Linked DNA regions of Homo sapiens: region 2 is linked to region 1. Evidence: promoter capture Hi-C in 16 types of primary human blood cells and fetal thymus (Javierre and others, 2016). All regions are on one chromosome and are shown on one strand. Each heading gives the region's core, a stretch centred on a gene start or on the middle of the fragment in contact. The rest is flanking DNA. Distances are from core to core; before and after follow the strand shown. Region 1 holds the start of OXR1-AS1 (OXR1 antisense RNA 1). Region 2 holds the start of ZFPM2-AS1 (ZFPM2 antisense RNA 1).

What was found. The method cuts DNA at HindIII sites, captures the fragments that hold promoters and counts their contacts. A CHiCAGO score of 5 or more calls a contact.
Region 2: a contact is called between the fragment with the promoter of ZFPM2-AS1 here and the fragment with the promoter of OXR1-AS1 in region 1, in 2 of 17 cell types (endothelial precursors and M1 macrophages). The highest score is 8.9, in endothelial precursors.

The regions. Positions count from the first base shown.
Region 1 is chr8:106,654,493-106,660,411 of GRCh38, reverse strand. OXR1-AS1 (OXR1 antisense RNA 1) reads left to right here and starts at 2,692. Exons shown (of 3, transcript XR_007061059.1): 1 at 2,692-4,301. All of the region lies in intron 3 of OXR1 (oxidation resistance 1), which reads right to left. RefSeq lists enhancers at 1-26, 2,592-2,801 and silencers at 2,082-2,231, 2,272-2,521. The HindIII fragment of the contact is 2,439 bases long and covers 1,085-3,523 here.
Region 2 is chr8:106,058,280-106,064,198 of GRCh38, reverse strand. ZFPM2-AS1 (ZFPM2 antisense RNA 1) reads left to right here and starts at 3,696. Exons shown (of 5, transcript NR_125797.1): 1 at 3,696-3,818. RefSeq lists an enhancer at 3,002-4,201. The HindIII fragment of the contact is 2,678 bases long and covers 1,803-4,480 here.

The sequences.
Region 1 (5,919 bases), core at 1,443-3,942:
GCAGCTATTAAGAAACTGAAATAAGAGTAGAAAGAGCAGAAGAAATCCTTCAAACAGACTGACAGACACTCATTCTAAAGGACACAAACACAAAGAACAACCCTAGAGCCAAAATCCATCTGAGAAGCAGCTGCAAAGCACAGAATTCTCATTTTAAACAAAGGCTAGCTGGAAACATATGAAGAATCATTTATTTTTCACTTGTGTATATACACGTTGCCTCTCAAAAGTCAGCTAGTTTTCACTAATTCTGCTCCAAATGAAAATGCTCTAGAATAGAGAATTTTGAAATCACCAAATCCAACCTCATTTACAAAGAAGAAAATATAGGCCCAAAGACACTAAGTAACTTGTCCAAATTCTTTCAGGAAGTTAATGCTAGGACGTACCTGCCCACATGACTGTGGTCATACTTTGACCTCACAACGCCTCTCTAATGTGTCAGAGATTTGGGGGCACCATGACTATTAAAGAATATGCAATGAATACATAAGGCAGCTTCAACAGAAGAGGAATACATATCACTTCAGAAGCGCCACTTTGAAGGAGGGTGTCAGATATAGCTGTGTGCTCCACATATATAAACACATAAGTGTCTCTCTGCTGCCCAGTCTGGATTCTCCTCCTGGGCTCAAAGGATCTTCCCGCCCCAGCCTCCTGAGCAGAGTAGCTGGAACTACAGACACGGGCCACCGAATGAATCAGATACACGTGTTTGGCCATATTTATTAAAATACTAACCATATTCCTTTTTAGTTAAGTTACCCCACATATTTCTGAATTCTCCACCCATTTCAAGGCTGGTCACACATCAACTGTTTTCAATTAGGCTACTGAAAACTCATTTTAAAAAGTCCTTGATTTGAACACTTTAAAGTCCCTTTCCTATGCCTGGTCCCACCTTTAAGAGGATTCTGCATTTGGTTAACGTCCTTCAGAGCAGAAACAAAAGTATTCCCCTCCCCTTTTCATTTCCTAATTCCATAAACAGCATTTCTAAAGATAAAAAATATTTTATGTAAAGTAAGGAAAATTTATTTTAAAGGGCTATGCTAAAATGAGACTTTAATATTTCTTCAAAGCTTAAATTACATACCTACACACATAGATCAAAAATGTCCTCACTGTTTTACTGCTTTAAAACAACTGGCAGGGCCCAGCATGGTGGTTCAGGCCTGTAATCCCAGCACTTGGGAAGGCCTAGGCAGGAGGATCACTTGAGGCCAAGAGTTAAGACCAGCCTGGGCAACACAGCGAGACTCCATCTCTACAAAAATAAAGTAAGATAAAATTTAAAATAAAATGACTGGCACGATGTGGAGTTATAAACAGATTTTACACACTTTGTGCCTATCTCTATTTTCTAAACTCTCTAATGCTCATTTATTTTCATAACCCTCAAATATTAAAGCAATTAACAAAAATAAAAATCAGACATGGCTAGGATGTCTGCTACCTGTTAAACGAAGCCAAGGACACTGGAAGTTACCCTATGCATTATGCTAAAACTGTTCAGCAGCACTTTCAAAAATTCTTTAAGTTATCAATATCATGTCGCTACAAATGACTGTTTTAAAGAATGGTACAAAGCCACTGTGGTGAAAAAAATCGGCCAACACAACACAAAATAAACAGGAACTGAGAAAGTTTCTAGGTTCTGCCACCACAAGACAACGTGCAGCCGTTCAAAAAGTACACGACGCAAAATGTCAACTAGCTTCCAATGTTAATGAAGTGTTTTATTTTACAAAGAAGTATCTGGCTTTTTATTTTTCGGTTAGGAAGTGAATCCTAACAACTGAGAAATATTAAGGAAAGACTGACCCAAACCAAAACCAAAGCAGGCACAGCGCTCTTCAAGAATCCAAGACTGAAAACACGGACGTCATAACTGGTTCAGTCTTCACCTCCCAGTGGGAGGGAAAGAGAGAATGGATCGTCCCCTTGAAATACTTGGCGGGGAAAGAAAATCAAGTCTAGGTGAGGAAAGCAGGAAGAGCAGAGCAGGAAGAGCTGGCACGCAGCTGAAAGTCTTCCCTCCCCAGAGCCGAACGAGTCCTTCCTTCCTCGCCCCCGGCGGCCGCCACCCCGGCCACGTTGCCCGCCCCGGCCCAGGCACACCTGCCAGAGCCGGGCAGCGACCCCCGCCCGGCGCCACGACCGCCGCCTCCCCACAGCCCTCAGCCCAGGTCGGCCGCGCGGGAGGCGAAAGAAAGGTGGGCTCACCAGGTCCCTCCGGGCTGGACGGCGCCGGGGGCCGGTGGGGCGGGGACCCGCACCCGAGGTCCCCCTGGGCTGGCTCCCTCAGGTAATCTTCGAAGCGCACCTGCCGGGCTTCGCCGCCGCCCCCGAACCCCAACAGGCGGTTGGCCGTGCCCCGCAGAAGGCGCCCACTCTTCTCGGTGAACGTCGTCAGGTAGTCCATGCTGCCGCGGGGCTGGACGCGGAACTGGGGCCCAGGAGGTCGACGGTTTCGGCGGTGGCGGCCACCACTAGCGCGCCCACCGGCCCATCAGACCTGACCCAGGGGAGGCGGCTCCGCGCGCCTCACAAGAGGCGGGGAGGAGGAGGGGGCGTCCCTCTCTCTGCCCGGGGACGGACCATCAGGAAACCACGCGTCGGGGGAGCAAAAGACGGACAAAAGTTTTCGAAAAGTTTTTCTTGTGGCTTCTAAATGCAAAATGAGGCAGAACTTAGCTTGTCACATAGGTGTATTCTTCCTGGAACCGATGCGGGGTCAGAAAACTGATGGCTTTTAAGCAAGCTGGACGGGTCCTCTCAGCGCATTCCCCCACCCGCCTGGCGCCAATGGAGCTGGCCTGGCCCGCCCAGCCCCTCCCCGCCCCGTCCGCGCTCGGACCGGACTTTCAGGACTGCAGGGGAAAGGGTGGACACCCAGCCTCCCGCCAGGTCAGAGCAGAGGCTAAAAATGGCCCAGGGGAGACTGCTGGAGTTGCATGGAGTTCGGGAGCCTAGGAGGGGTCTGAAAATAACTGTCAAAAAGTTTGAAGGGTGTGTGTTGGCTTGGGGAAAAAAGAGGGTGGAGTGCATTACATAAAACTTTTGCAGCTTGTATTTCCTTTTTTTTTTTTTATGTTTAAGGACGGCGGAGATACCTTCAACGTAAGACTGCAATCATAATTAAAACATGAATAGTAACATTTTAAGTTCGTTGTGCCATTATGAACTCATGTTAGTGTTGGACATTCTATGATCCCAGTCCTGTTTAGGCAACGTTATTGAGGGATTTAGTTTGCGGATCTACCTTTCAGGGACAAAGAACCTAGACAGGGAAAGAACAGTAACTTTTGACAGAAATTTTGCTTCCTGTGAGATGTGGTTATTCTCTTCCTTTCACATCTGTTTGTAGTTCTTTTAGTTTTCCCAGGCATTAAATAAATTAAACCCTCTTTCTTGGAATCACCAATATATTAATATATTGGGGGGAAAAAGATTTGAATTACTTAGGAAGTTGATGAACTACCCACTCCAACAATAGAGCCCTGAAAATCAGGCTTAAGCTTTTGGCCATACTACTAAAGACTATCCCTCCTGACAAACACACACCCTCTTTTTTTTTTTTTTTTTTTAACTGGTTGACAGATCTTTTTTGCATCATCACCATTTTCAGTTTAGATTCTTACTAGGTGGGATAAATTTCACCATTCTAATATCAGCCATCACCATTATGCCTGGTGAAAAATACAGAATGTCTGGGCTGCATCCTCAGAGTGTCTAATTCGGTGTTTATGGGAAAGGGACCCAGGAGAATCTGCATACCCAGCAATCCATGTTTTCAGGGTTGTGGCTTGGGAAAGAACTGTTCCAGACTTCTGCACTTCCTAAGGACCTATTTTGTAGATGTTGCAGTGGACGGAATGTTTGTGCTTTCCCTTAAATTCATTTGTTAAAATCCTAACCCCAATGTGATGGTATTAGGAGATGGGGCCTTTGGGAGGTAATTCATAGCATAGAGGCCGCATGAATGCGATTAGTGCCCTTATAAAAAAGGGACCCAGAGAGCTGTCTCCATCTTTCTGCCACAGGAGGATACAAAAATACATCAGTTTGCAAACCAGAAGAAGGTCCTCACCAGAAACCAACTATGCTGGCACCCTGATCTTGGACTTCTAGCCTCCAGAACTGTGAGAAATAAATGTGTGTTTATAAACCAGTCAGTCAGTCTATGGTGCTTTATTATAGCATCTGGAACGAGCTAAGACAGCTGCTAAGTAGCATTCCATTTGACAAGGAAGACTTACCATTCACACTACTTCTGAGTTCAATGAAAGAGAGGCTCGGTAAGTTTTAAAAATCAAATTTCAATGACTTAGTCTAATTCTCATTAATAATTTAAATTATTTTTCTAAGATATGTTTTACATCTTCTAAAAATTTACCGGTTTGTTATAAGCATATCCAATTAATGCTTGAGATTTTACCTGATTAGATCTGCACTTTTACATCCAACATTTGCAGGAAGCTTCATTCTACCAGTTCAAATCCAGATTTACAGGTAGTTAACCCATCTGTTTTGGGTTTTTTTTCTGCTTCTATTTCATAGAAGGCTAGAGCTGCTGGAGAAAAATGTATAACCTTGATGACTGAATGCCTTACAATCTTTGATTTAAACTCGGCTGAGTCGTAATGTCTCTAAAATCCTTCTATTCATATAGTCAGTGTTCTCTTTTATTCTCTGTATTTGTTGTCTGAACTGTCATCATTATCCTAAAGTTACCAAATTCATCACTTGAACATGTTACTTTGCCTTCTACATGACCCAGAAAATCATAGGCCATCAAATATGAACATTCATTTTTCTTTCCTTTTTCTCTTCAATCTACATCAAGTTGCTCTCCCTACCTTGCTTTAGAAGGAGGTCTTTATTCCTGTCCATGCCTTTCTTCCAGATTTTCTTTTGATAGTCTAATTATGTTGTCTGTGACTTGCCAGCTTTATTATTCCTCTCTGTTCCTTTTCACTATATTTCCTTTCCTCTTATCCTTCCTCTATCAGCCACATAAGTCACTCAGCCTTAAAAAAAGCTTGCTTATATGCCATGCCTGCTTTTTCACGCTACCTTTTGCCTCATTAAAAAAAAAAAACTTTATTCATATGTAATTTAAGTACTGTAAAATTCACGTGTTAAAATTATATAGTTCACCTGATAACAATTCAGGGTTATAAAGCCATCATCAAAATGTAATCTTTGAACCTGAGCATTTCCATCACCACAAAAAGAAACTTTTTACCATCTGTAGTCACTCCCCAGTCACACTTGCAGCCCTAGGCAACCACTAGTCTATTTCTGCCTCGGTGGATTTGCCTTTTATAGACATTTCATATAATGCTTGGTCTTTGGGGTCTGGCTTCTTTCACTTAATGTTTCTGAGGCTTCTTCATGTTGTAACATGTATTGGTACTTCATTCCTTCTTACCACCAAATAACATTACTTTGTATAAGATATACCACATTTTATTGATCCGTTCATCCATTGATGGATATTTGGATTGTTCATACCTTGCAGCTATTGTGAATAATGTAGGAACATCTAGGTAATTAAGTTTTTTTGTTGACCTGTTTTCATTTCACATATATACATAGAAGTGAAACTGCTGGGTCAAAATGGTGGCTTTCAATGTACAAAAAGGTTTAATTTTGATGAAGTCCAAATTTATCAATATTTTTATCACATCCGTGCTTTGCATTGTATCTAAGAAATCACTGACTAATCCAAAGTTCGAAGATTAACTATTATGTTTTTTCTATGAGTTTTATTTTATTTAGCTCTTATATTAGGTCTTTGATCTAACATAGGACTTTGATCTAATATAGGTCTAATATAGATCTTTGATCTTATATAGGTCTTTGATCTATGTTGGGTTAATTTTCAGGTTTGATGTGAGGAAGTGGTCCAAA
Region 2 (5,919 bases), core at 2,447-4,946, 600 kb after region 1:
GGAAACTATTCTTTTACTATGAGGATTCTTCTTTCTTAGATAATCACACAACAGAATCTTACTTCTCCTCCTACATAAAGAAGGTGCAAATGCAGGAAAAACATCAGGACAGAAAGTTGGGATAGGTTGGAATTAGTCATGAGTAGGAGCAGGGCAGAGACGGGGAGGTCACGCATAGCAGTTATCATTTGATGCAGTTTCTCAGATATTCCATTTGTTTAGAAAGTCAGAGAGCTAGCCAAACATCCCATACACTAAAGCATGAGCTTCCTTACATGGTGTCCTCTAGAAACTGGCATTTAAGTTAGCATTTGTCATGAAATTCTACTCTTCTCTGAATTCAAGTATGCAGGGTCAGAGAATTAATCTCTAGATTCTGAAAGAGCCTTACAGATAGCGTTGTTTCATATAATCATTCCTAGCAACCTCTGCAAAATCATTAATAATATATTTTAAATATATATAATATATTTTAAGAAGCAGAATGTGAAGACACATGCAAGGAGTCATTTTTAGACTTGAGTACCTGCAATCTGCATGCTTCTATGAAAACAAGTAAACAGTACTAATCTGATTTTATTTTTAATAATGATATTAGGGTTAAAATTATATAACTTTCCACATACACAGCTTATCTTGATTTTTTAACCACACATAATATCCATGTAGGCAAGGAAAAGAAATGCAAAGTCTGGATCCCTACAAAGATATTACCTTAGTAGAATATGCAGTTAACTGCAATGTATATAACATACAATTATTAAAGGATCAATGTTATTGTGCATTCATTCATTCAACAAATATATATTTACTGAGTCCTATTAAGTGCAAGGTACTATTCTAGGGCTTGTCTTATAGTGATAAAAAATCAGTCACAAATATCTGGCAGAACTCCATTGCTAGTTCACCGTGGGTTCTTTCTGATGGTAAAGGCTGCTTGCTTGTTGATAGTTTTCTTTGGAAAGAGATCCCAGGAAACTAAAATGAAATGACAGAGAACACAGAAACAGGGAAAGAAATAAACGCAATTCAAGGATGCATTATTGAGCTGGTTGCCATGTAGGCTCTCTGAGGAACAGTGTAAAGAGCATCTCTGAATGGTCTATCCTAGGCATAGGAGTGGGAAATTTTAGCCACTGGCTTCCATCTTCTATTGATCAAATATTGCCCAAGGGTGTAATGACTCCCTTGTACTTCCTGGTATACCGTAAACAGCATGGCTATGTGAACACTTTCAGATTTTCATGTTGAACAACAAAAAAAGCCCAGGACAGCAAGTAAGAGATATACAGCCCAAAGTGCTACAAGGGTACCCCTGCACGCAGCCAGTTGGTGCAGCAATAGCTGGAAAAAAATATGTTCCAAAAGGACATATGAGAAATCTTCATGCTCCACTTCATATGCTGGTTGGACATACTCATCGTATAGCCTTATAATATGTAGCTGACTGCAATCTCTACAAAAGAACTCCATTCTAGAATTGCTTGAATCCGGGACACAGAGGTTGCAGTGAGCCAAGATTGTGCCACTGTACTTCAGCCTGGGCAACAGAGTGAGACTCCGTCTCAAAAAAAGCAAAACAACAACAACGACAAAAAAACCATTCTGAAGGCGTGTTAGTTTTCTGGGGCAGCTGTAACAAATTACTGCAAGCTGAGTGGCAAAATAAGAAAACCAAAAAACCCCAAAAAACCAAACAAACAAACAAAAAACAAAAAACCCTCAATCCTCCCCAGCCACACAGACACACAGACACACACACACACACACACACACACCCCACACACAAAAAAACAGAAGCTTACTCTCTCTCCATTCTGGAGGCTAGAAATCTTAAAATCAAAGTGCTGTCTCTGGAAGCCTCCAGAGAATGATCCTTCCTTCCTTTTCCCGCTCCTAGGCATTCCTTGGCTTGGGTAGCATAACTCCAATTTCTGTCTCCATCTTCACATGGCTGTCTTCCATCTGTGTCTGTCTTCACGTGGCATTCTCCTCTCCATGCGTCTCTGTCTCTGTGTCTACATTTCCCTTTCCTTATAAGGACACCAGTTATATTGGATCAAGGGCCCACCCTACTCCAGTATTATTTCATCATAACTAATTAAATCTGCAAAAACTGTATTTCCAAGTAAGGTCACATTCTAAGACACTGGAGATTAGGATTTTGACATATGTTTTTGGAGGATGCAATTTAATCCATAAGAGTTAGTGGAAAAAGGTAGAGGTCCCACTGCTGCAAATGGTCCTGATGCTATAGCTGATACTTCTCATCCCTTTTCTCCACCACCCATTCTAGACTTTCCTCATACTCAGCCAATATGTCATTGCATCTAAGTTATTTGTGTGGTAGAGTAACTTCCACTGGATAGAGCAGAAGCTCTGTAAGTCTTTACCCTGGCAGGGGGCAGGAATGCAACTCTACATCTGGGATACATGTAATTTTCTTTATAGAATAATCAGTAGAAGCAGTAGCTAGATCAACATTAGGAGGTCCATGCTTTGGGTCTGTGCATAGACTCTATTCCTGACTTTGTGCTCATATATCCACTGTGCATAATCTAGGTGGTTGAGGAGGTTGGCTGATATCCACAGAATAAGTCATCCTTCCTCCCTAGCTGTTGAGTGCTTCTTATGTAGCAGATGTTCTCCTACAGGCATTAATGTGCCAGCAATCCTCCACACCCTTTGTACTACTCCAATAGGTTCATAAACTTGCCTCAACACAAATTTCATTTTTACTCTCTTCTAGTCTTGCCACTACCAGGCTTCTGCCCATGAAGACAAGCCCAGCAGTTCCATATATCTTTACCTCATATTACTCTTCTTTGCAGCCAAGATGAATAACCAGGTTTGCTTGCAGTTCTGCTCATTGAGAGGATGTTCCTTTACCCCCAGTCTTCAGGCAGTCCCTGGGTGGGGCTGGAGTGATGGCATACCATTTTATACTTTTACTAACCTATCAGCCAACTGATCCCATGGACCAAGCTCAGGCTTTTCCCCTTCAGTTAGTTGATTGTAAGGAAGCCCCTATGAGGCCATGGGTTCCAGCTGAGATGAATTATCCTTCAGAGTTCTTTCTTGCTTGTTTCTACTTATATTTGGAACAGGCAATTTGCAAAGGTAGAAAGGAAAAACATCAATTAGGTAGATACTACAATAACTAAAGAGTTAAGTATCAAAATTTTAACTCATGAGGTGATGGTAAGAAGTGAAAACATCGCCTCTAAGAAATATTGGGCAGATAAAATAGAATGCAACAATTCAAAAGAGAAGGATGCTTTAATGTAAGGAGAAAAGCTGTGACTTTAGCTTTAAATATACTAAGATGGAGGTGGTGAGGGTATTCAACCACAAACCTACATTCTATGTGCCCAGGATTGTTCAAGGTATGTGTCAGGTTCTAACTGAGGTCCGAGGGGAGTCAGTGGGTGAGTGGTGGGTAGCCGGAAAAACACTGGGGGAATCGTAGACAGTTTTGACATGGCTTTTCTCTCTCTCTGCGCATAAGCCATATGTACAGCATCAGCAGTGTAGTTATAACTTTTACAGACGACAGTGGCTCTGAATCAAGCACGCGCTCACGTGACTGGTTACTAATGCGCCTCACGTGGCGTGGTTACCTAATGAGCTGAGTTGTGTGAGTGAGCTCCAAACTCACTGAGTCATGCTGGACCGGATGTCTGCTTCGACCTATTCTTGACCGCAGCACATCCGTTTTCCTTACAGTATGTAGTACGCATTCTACCTTTTCCTACAATGAATCCACCAGCAGAAATTCCTGTACACATCTTATCAACAAAGAATTTGAACCTCAAAGAGTAAGTACTTTCTCCAGAGTGTAAGATTGTTAATGTCTGTGATATTCTTTGAAGTGAGGCAAGTAAATACTTCTCAACATGTTTTCTTTTCCTGCTCCTCTTTCTCCTACTTCTTTCCTTCTTTTTTCCTCCTCTTCCTGTTATAGGACTAGCAAGTACACAGGACCACTGTACAGTAACAGATCAGTTACACTGAGACAACAGAGTTTACAGCAGAGAAAGAGTTTAATGCTCACCGGATACCAAGTGAGGAGATGGGAGGAGACCCTCAAGTTCGTCTCCCCAAGGAGCACTTGGCTGGGGTTTTTAATGGGATCATGGAGGGTGAGAGGTTGGAGCATTGAGATTGTTGATATTTGGGGTAAGGGGGATGACATCATGAGGATGTAGAAACTGCATTCTTTGGTGAGTCAGCTTCTTGTGGGGTCCTTCAGACTAGCTGATGTCAGTAGTTTCATTCTTTTACAGGGCTTGCAGGACTTGAAAGAATAGAACTTATGTTTTCCCTTTGAGGTATTTTAAGTTTTTATCTGTAGAGCAGTGAAGGGGAACGGTAATCTTGTAACAGGGTCTATGTAATTCGGAGGCAATAGGCAAACAACTATGAGGAATGGATCACAGAGCATCTAACATAATGATTAATGCTGGGTGTGCTGCAAGCTTGCTTTATTTTCATTTCTCCCCGTCCCTTCTTCCCTGATTGAATTTATAAAGTTTACAGGAGCAGTTTCACTCATGGTAACTATATCTTGGTTTTGAATTAGACTGTCAGTATAGACAGGAAATACGGCACTGCTCACAGTTGATGCTTCATAAATATTTTGGGGGAAAAAGTTCTTACACATTACTCCTCCTGATCTCCGAAATTTGAGTTTGAAATAACTTAAGTAAAACCTTTGAACATTGTTATTTACCAGCTGCAAAAGTTTAAAATATGAAATTTACCTCAGTACAACCCCTCTTGAATGATTTAATTTTATACTTTAAAAGCTACATTTCATCCTATCTGTTTTTTGGCAAAAAGTAATTGAAGCCAACTATTCTTTTCTTTTTCATAATCCCACATGTACAGTTCTTAATTAAGCACAATTAAAATCAGCTTTTTCTGTCTTATTTTGTATTCTCATTCCATATGCTATATGTTCTTTATTTCTATTAAAAAGATGTACTTTTAATAAAAATGGATCTTTCTTCCTTTCTTATATTGCTATGATTTTATAGCTTTCAAATCCATTCTTAATTAGGTTCTGGTGCTGGTGATTATTAAGTTCTTCACACTTCTCTCATAGTGGAGCTTAAGGTAAGATAAAGGAAATGACAATTCCCAACCTTGTCTAGCCTTGAGGAAGAGGGTCAGAATAATATTGGTGGAACTTGAGCTGGAATGACTCTAGATTTAAGCAAAATTTGCGTTTCTTTGGCCATTAATTCAGAATGAAGGATGAGTTTGTGTCACGTGTGCCTCCTGAAGTACTCTGAGATTGCCTATGTACTCACAGGCTCATTCTAGTCTGTGAAAATCCTTTTTTAAACCGGCCTGAAACCCAGGAGCCTCATAAAAAAAGAGAGAAAAATCAATGCAATTAGTTTTCATGTATACTTACGTCTTCCTTCTGTTGTTTGTTGACTCTACACTTTAGTATAATTTCAGGCATAATGCCTCCATCTTTGAGCAGGAAGGAATGGGTTACCCGTGGGCCTTGATGCTGACCTTTTGCCCTGGGAAGCTTGGCTCCAACTGGAGCAGCTGAGGTTTCTGGGCTGGTTACTTCTGCTCCATACAACCTGCTCTATTTACCCTCGGTGAGCTATATAATCTATCACAGTTTTCTGTGTACACCGTGATTTTAAAATGATGGGAAGCACTGGCTTAAACTATGTGATAATGAAGAGAAATGCCATCTACAGATAGACCTGCTATAAGACAAGCATATTATATTCTTATTTAAAATATTTATTTATATCTGTGGCTTTTAAACTGTGTTGCATATTAAGTTCAACTGGGGAGCTTTTAAAACGGGCCTGCTGTGGGGTGGGGGGAGGGGGGAGGGATAGCATTAGGAGATACACCTAATGTTAAATGATGAGTTAATGGGTGCAG